Regions from separate parts of the Homo sapiens genome. Here region 1 is linked to region 2. Evidence: promoter capture Hi-C in 16 types of primary human blood cells and fetal thymus (Javierre and others, 2016). All regions are on one chromosome and are shown on one strand. Each heading gives the region's core, a stretch centred on a gene start or on the middle of the fragment in contact. The rest is flanking DNA. Distances are from core to core; before and after follow the strand shown.

The links. The method cuts DNA at HindIII sites, captures the fragments that hold promoters and counts their contacts. A CHiCAGO score of 5 or more calls a contact.
Region 1: a contact is called between a fragment that was not itself captured here and the fragment with the promoter of COX6A1 in region 2, in 1 of 17 cell types (monocytes). The highest score is 7.1, in monocytes.

Annotation. Positions count from the first base shown.
Region 1 is chr12:122,504,081-122,507,609 of GRCh38, reverse strand. It overlaps RSRC2 (arginine and serine rich coiled-coil 2), which reads left to right. Exons shown (of 10, transcript NM_023012.6): 9 at 687-776; 10 at 1,904-3,529. The coding sequence ends at 2,083. Among named protein-coding and RNA genes, the nearest start is that of ZCCHC8, 4.9 kb to the right of the region's middle. RefSeq lists a silencer at 3,341-3,529. The HindIII fragment of the contact is 4,035 bases long and covers 12-3,529 here.
Region 2 is chr12:120,436,863-120,440,736 of GRCh38, reverse strand. It overlaps COX6A1 (cytochrome c oxidase subunit 6A1), which reads right to left and starts at 2,624. Exons shown (of 3, transcript NM_004373.4): 1 at 2,508-2,624; 2 at 2,216-2,358; 3 at 7-283. The coding sequence starts at 2,610. The coding sequence ends at 200. It also overlaps the pseudogene LOC124903126. RefSeq lists enhancers at 1,930-2,451, 2,378-2,587. The HindIII fragment of the contact is 8,043 bases long and covers 1-3,785 here.

The DNA of each region.
Region 1 (3,529 bases), core at 780-3,279, 2.1 Mb before region 2:
GAAGTCAAGCTTTCAAAGAAAACTAATATTACCATAGAAGTAGTAAGGAAAAGAGGCTACTTGGTTTAGAATTTTTCATAGATTATGAGGTACTTTTTTTTTTTTGACATTATTTGCAATGACAAATGACATTAAATGCAAATGACATGCAGTCGCAAAAATTGCATGTTGAAAAAGGTCTATGACAGGAAAATAATCCATTTTTTTATTTTATTTTTATTATTTTTGAGACAGAGTCTTGCTCTTGTCACCCAGGCTGGAATGCAGTGGTGTGATCTCAGCTCACTGCAACCTCTGCCTCCCAGGTTCAAGCAATTCTCCTGCCTCAGACTCCTGAGACCCTCCTGGGTCTACAGGTGCCCACCACCATGCCAGGCTAGTTTTTTGTATTTTTAGTAGAGACGGGGTTTCACCTAGTCATCCAGGCTAGTCTCGATCCCCTGACCTCAGGTGATTTGCCCACCTCGGCCTTCCAAAGTGCTGGGATTATAGGAGTGAAGCACGGCGCCAACCTCTTGCTTGTATTTCTTTGCTTTGTGGTTTCTTAAGTCTTGAAATAATTAAACTTACATTGATTGAATGCTATCCATGGTGTTTTTTTTTTTAATTTAGACATTGTTGAGAGATTTCATGTCCTAAAAAATATTTAAATTTTACATATTTTAAAGTTCAGTGTTTGTTAACAGGACAAATCCCAATCTGCTGAAATATGGGAAAAATTGAATTTTGGAAACAAGGACCAAAATGTCAAATTTAGGAAATTGATGGGTATTAAGGTGAGTTTCACATGTGCCAGGGGATCTTTGTATTAGCTATTAGCCCTCCTGCACTGTTCTTCCCTCATTTTCTTAGTTCTGGTCTTTACTCAGGTGTCAGCGTTTTTGAGTTCTTTCCCACCACCTTTTGTGAAATAACAAGCAATCCCATTCTGAAACATTTCCATCTCCCCTACCCACTGTCCTCCCTACACACACACTTGGAGAGAGAGAGAGAGACGGGGTTTTGCTCTGCTTGCTCTGTCACTTGGGCTGGAGTACAGTGGTGCAGTCATACCTCACTGCAGCCTTAAACTTCGAGGCTCAAGCAGTCCTTCCACCTCGGCCTCTCAAAGCCCTGGATCACAGTTCTGAGCCACTGCGCCCAGCCTCCATCCCCATTTTCTACTTTACTTTCCTCTGTGGCATTTATACCCTGACATCTTCTACATATTATGTTTTTTCCAACCTACTAAACTGAAGTTAACTTTTGTTACACCCTGCTATATTCCAGACCTAGAAAGAACATTGCCTTGTCCTTTGGAGGTGTTCAATAATGAATGGAAATTAAGTTATTGAGATCAAATACATATCCCAAAAGTATATTTTTGTTTGTTTGTTTTTTGTTTTTAGTATAGACGGGGTTTCACCATGTTGGCCAGGCTAGTCTCGAAATCCTGACCTCAGGTGATCCACCCGTCTCAGCCTCCCAAAGTGCTGGGATTACAGGCGTGAGCCACACTGCACCCGGCCAAAAGTATAATTTAATAGTGTCAGCCTAGTTCACACCTGTAATCCCAACACTTCGGGAGGCCGGGGGGCAGGCGGCAGGGGGGATCCCTGAGGTCAGGAGTTCGAGACCAGCCTGACCAATGTGGTGAAACCCCGTCTCTACTGAAAATACAAAAATTAGCTGGGCGTGGTGGCATGTGCCTCTAATCCCAGCTATTTGGGAGGCTGAGGCATAAGAATTACTTAAACCCAGGAGGCAGAGGTTGCAGTGAGCCGAGATGGCACCACTGCACTCCAGACGGGACAACAGAGCAAGACTCCATCTCAAAAAAAAAAAATACATAAAAAATAGTGTCAAGTGAGAGAATATTTATCTCCATCTGAATTCATTGTAATGTTTTATGTCTGATTTTTAGAGTGAAGATGAAGCTGGATGTAGCTCAGTTGATGAAGAAAGTTACAAGACTCTGAAGCAGCAGGAAGAAGTATTTCGAAATTTAGATGCTCAGTATGAAATGGCAAGATCACAAACCCACACACAAAGAGGAATGGGTTTGGGTTTCACATCTTCAATGCGAGGAATGGATGCAGTTTGAAAATGATCACACTTGTAAAGTTTGGGACTTATAGACTTCTTGTTCTGATGTCACGTCCTTGTTCACCAAACAGCTAGCACTCTAGCTTGCATGGGTGTTGCATTGACTTTAATTTATTGAAAAATACAAATTTTTGTAAATATCAGATCAGTGATACTGGTGTTAGTGTTGTAATCAGGTTAAACCCACTTCCATTAAACTTGACAGGACTATAGAAGGATAATATTTTTTAGTTCATGAATTCTACTTTTCAAATATATAAAAGCTGCAGGTGGGGATAAAATCTCATACATGGATTTTTTCGTGTCCGCTGTCTTGTGTACTTTTGTACTTAACCTTGTACAGTTATTTTCATCTCTTGAAACATGAAAGAAATGTTATGTAGATGTTCTTTAGAAGATCTGGCCATTTGGTACATAATCCAGCACAGATAAGCTGGGTGGTAATGATAATAAAAATGGTTTTCTCAAAACTGGTGTTAATTTAAGTTACCTGGGATGTTTCTTTGAATTTGTTTTATAGTTTCTGTAGCATTTGGCAATTGCTGTTAGAAAACACTAGCTAGAAATCCCCTCCCCACCACCCTTTTTAAGGCCAGTTAACTATACTACAGTCAATACCGTGGTGAGCAAAAATGTAAAAGGTGGAAGGAGAAAACTTACTAAAATAGTATGTTTTCCTATTATAAGGGACAGACTTGGTATTCAGTATTTGTCAAATATTACATGTGTTATTCAGGAGATAGATTAATGCATTAAAGGGATGTAAGCACTTTTATTTTAATAAAGTGCCTTATAACAAGTTCTTTGCATGCTTTTTGCTCATTATCCCTTTGAAGTCTTCTCCAGCATAGACTATAAAATATTAAAATATTAGAAATTTTTTTTGTTTGTTTTTTTGAGACAGGATCTTGCTCTGTTGCCTAAACTGGGTGCAGTGGCACAATCTCGGCTCACTGCCAGAGCCTCTGCCCCCCAGGTTCAAGCAATTCTCCCACCTCCACCTCCCATGTAACTGGGATTACAGGCGTACCACCGCACCCAGCTAATTTTTGTATTTTTAGTAGAGGTGGGGTTTTACCATGTTGGCCAGGCTGGTCCTGAACTCCTGACCTCAGGTGATCCACCCTCCTCAGCCTCCCAAAGTGCCGGGATTATAGGCGTGAGCCACTGCAGCCAGCCTAGAAAATGTTTTGTTACTAGATTGAACATAAATCTGGAGCCAAGGGGTGGGGGGGGCCTGCAAAACTTGAAGTTAATTTACTTCAGTTACAGCAAAGTAATAAGGTTTGGCTTTCCTTTGAAAAATCCTTTGGAAAACATCACAGAATGAGAGCACATTACAATCAGGGAAGACTACAGGAATAAGATTGACAGCCTTATTTTAAAAGCTGGAATTAAGTCTTGCCAACTTGCTCATTAGGTATTTTTTTTATACATGAAAATG
Region 2 (3,874 bases), core at 1,375-3,874:
CCAATCTAAATTTAAGTTATTTATTTAAGCCATCTCCTGCCACAAGCAAAGGGATGGGAGACCAGTATACCAGTCATCATTTGATACAAGTAAAGAAGGTGAGCTTAAGGTCCCATATACTTTTTCTGGTCCATGTGCAGAGTAACGGTCCAAACCAGTGCTGTGGTCCCTGGTGCCCGGGTAGTGGTCCAGATTCTCTTTATTCATCTTCGTAGCCAGTTGGAAGTGGATTCACATGAGGGTTATGGAATAGAGTATGGTTACCATCTCCCCAGGGAAACGGCTGTGGAGTGAAGATGTCAGTTAGATAATTCCAGAAAATAATTTAGAAAGAACACCGTCATGAACTGCTTATAACGGGGTGACAGATCATATATAAAAACAAAATGGAAATTAGTCCTTTATCTACTGGTGTAGTTCAACCTTCCCATTATTTAAGGAGCTCTTATAACTACCAGGGGAGCCCTTAAAGTTATCCTGGCTACAGGACAGTTTTAATTCCAGAAACAAATATGGATGGCAGAAAATGCAAGCTCAAGTTAGTTACTCATCATCCTCTCCCTAGTAACTAGTATATCCAGTGCTGTGTTTATGAAAGTGTAATCCTCAAATCACCTATATCAAAATGGTGGCAGTATTAGGGGAGGGAGATGCTTAATTAAATGCAGATTTCTGGCACCATCCCAGACTTCAAACAATATCTGGGCTGGGAAACTGCAGCCCACCCTGAATTATCTTGCCTATTACCTTTGAAAAGCATTACTTTAGGGCAACGGTCTCCAACCCAGGGTGATTTTGCCCCTTCAGGGCACACTGGGTAGTATCGGGAGACACTGTGATGGGGGCGGGGGAGGGGGAAGCGGGAGTGGGGTTGCGCAGGTACTACTGCCACCTAGTGGGTACAGGCCAAGGATATGGCTAAACATTTCACAATGCACAAGATAGCCCCCCAACAAGAATTACCCAGCCCCAAATGTCAACAGTGCTGAGGCTGAGAAACCTTTACTGTTTGGCTTCTAATTGCATTGTACAAGGATGGGAGTGCCGCTCAAAGACTCAACAAATTCAAGAGTCTAGGTTAAGTTTCTACAAGGCCAGTCCTATATGGGCTAGGTGATGTAATAATAATAATAATAATAATAACTTTTTTCATCACTTCTCGGCCTTTTGGCTAAGATCAAGTATATTATTACTATTTTTTTTTGAGACGGAGTTTCACTCCTGTTGCCCAGGCTGCAGTGCAATGGCTGGATCTTGGCTCACTGCAACCTCCTCCTCCTGGGTTCAACCTCCTAGATTCTCCCACCGCAGCCTCCCGAGTAGCTGGGATTACAGGCGCCCGCCACCACGCCCGGCTACTTTTTGTACTTTTAGTAGAGATAGTGTTTCGCCATGTTGACGAGGCTGGTCTTGAACTCCTGACCTCCGGCGATCCACCCACCTTGGCCTCCCAAAGTGCTGGGATTACAGGCGTGAGCCACCGCGCATGGCCAGTATTGAAGAATCAGAATAAGCCCTTGTTAAAGATACAGCAAACAACAGAGGACACAACATTGTAATATATCTACATCAACAACCAATGATAAAACAGTCGAGAAAAGGTATTGGTGGGGAATAGAGAAAGCTGTCAGTCTCTTCATTATGCAACTAGTAGCTGCCAGATGCCCATGTTTTGTTGTTGCTGTTTTGTTTTGTTTTGAGACCAGAGTCTCGCTCTGTTGCCCAGGCCGGAGTGCAGTGGCACGATCTCAGCTCCCTGCAAACTCCGCCTCCTAGGTTCAAGGGATTCTCCTGCTTCAGCCTCCCATGTAGCTGCTGGGTTCGCTTACGCGAACCACCTTCAGACTTTGCCACTCTAATTGGATTTCCCAAACCTCCAGGCTTTACACAACGGACACCTGTTTCAGAACTGTCTCAGAAGTAAAAAAAAAAAAAAAAAAAAAAAAAAGAACTGTCTCAGAAGGCAGGAGGTAGGATGAATCGGAGAAAAGGGAAACTGAAGAGCACTTATTGTATGACCTTGAAGAAGAGAATTGAGACGTAATCCCAAGTGTCAGCTGTCCATCCACAAAATGGAAGAAAATACATTTTCTGTTTGTGAGGATAAACAAGCTGTACACGCCTGGCACCCATGCCTTCAGAGAATGAAGAACTTGCACTAAGGCACACATAACGAAAAGAGAACGGACGCTTGAAGAGATGTACAAGGGCGTACCTTGGTCCTGATGCGGAGATGGGGGTAGGCGATGAACTCGGGTCTCTCGTGCTCTCCGTGGTGCGACTTCAGGTACACATTCAGCATGCTGACTGCCACCCCGGGGAGCGCGACGAAGAAGGTGAGAGTCTTCCACATGCGAGCTGCGGAGAAGCCACAAACGTTCAGCGCCGGTATGGGGCGGGCCCGGGTCTCACTTTCCCTCCCGCAAGGCCTCGGGCCAAGGTCACAGTCCCTCCCTGTCTCGCCCGAGTGGGGCTGAGGCTCGACCCGTCGACCCCGGCCCCAGTACCTGAGCCCTCTTCGCCATGGGCGCCACTCGACATAGGCCGCCCCAGCTGTGGGCGGGACCGACCCAGCAGCCGAGAAACCGAGGACACACCAACTACCGCCATTTTTGATCTGGACTGCCGCAGCGCCGGAAGCGGAAGTGGAAAATTGGCTCTGGGGGCGGTACTACAACCTCCAAAGGAAGTTACTATTGGGCGCCGCCCTCCCACTGGCATTAACCTGAGCACTATCATCCGGGACGACGGAGTCCTTGTCAAAATCCTCGGCATCTCGGGCAAGAGAGAGCATGCGCTCTGCACCTCCCTTCAGGCTTTACCGTTTCCTTCGTGCGCATGCGTGTGCCCTCCGGTCTCCCTACCGTCCCCACCTGGGCGAGGCGGAAGCTCAAGAGAGGTTTGTGCAGGGTGCCCTGGTACCTGGAATCGCTCCCTTCGTTGGAGTCCATGGACGGGCATCTGGAGGTTCTGATCCCAGACCGCCCTATCTAAAATTCCGTTCCCCTTCCTCGCCATCCTCCGACTGCGTTTTCTCATAGCACATAACATTGCACCTTCGTCGTTATATTATTATTTTGTCTGTCTCCCCCACTAGAATATAAAGTCTGTGATACCAAGAGTTTGGCACTGCAGCATTCTCAGAATAATCTGGGAATGGTGTAATTTGGAATCATACCTGGCACATACCAGATACTTGATATAAATTTGCTGAATGAATGGATGAATGAATGAATAGCAACAGAAAGTATAAAGAGCACTGAAATTGGTGCCAGCAGACCTGGATCCTAATCCTGACTCAACAGTCTCATCTTTTTTTTTTTTTTTTTTTTTTTTTTTTTTGAGACGGAGTTTGACTCTTGTTGCTTAGGCTGGAGTGCAGCGGTGCAATCTTGGCTCACTGCAACCTCTGCATCCCAGGTTCAAGCAGTTCTACTGCCTCAGCCTCCTGAATAGCTGGGATTACAGGCACGCACCACCATGCCTGGCTAATTTTTTTTTTTGTACTTTGGTAGAGACAGGGTTTCACCATATTGGCCAGGATGGTCTCCATCTCCTGACCTTGTGATCCGCCTTCCTCGGCCTCCCAAAGTGCTGGGATTACAGGCGTGAGCCACTGTGCCCGGCCTTTTTTTTTTTTTTTTTTTTTTTTTTCAATAGGCCCCTTTGAGAATGTAATGAGGACCAGCGTGGTGGCTCATGGCTGTAATCCCAACACTTTGAGAGGCCGAGGCGGACAGATTGCTTGAGCTTGAGAGTTTGAGACCAGCCTGGGCAACAAAGCTTTTTTCTTTATTAGAAAAAAAAAGAATCTAATGAAAGCTTTGAACCCTTTCCTCTAAAGACACACCTATGTGTAAACACACAGTATAGC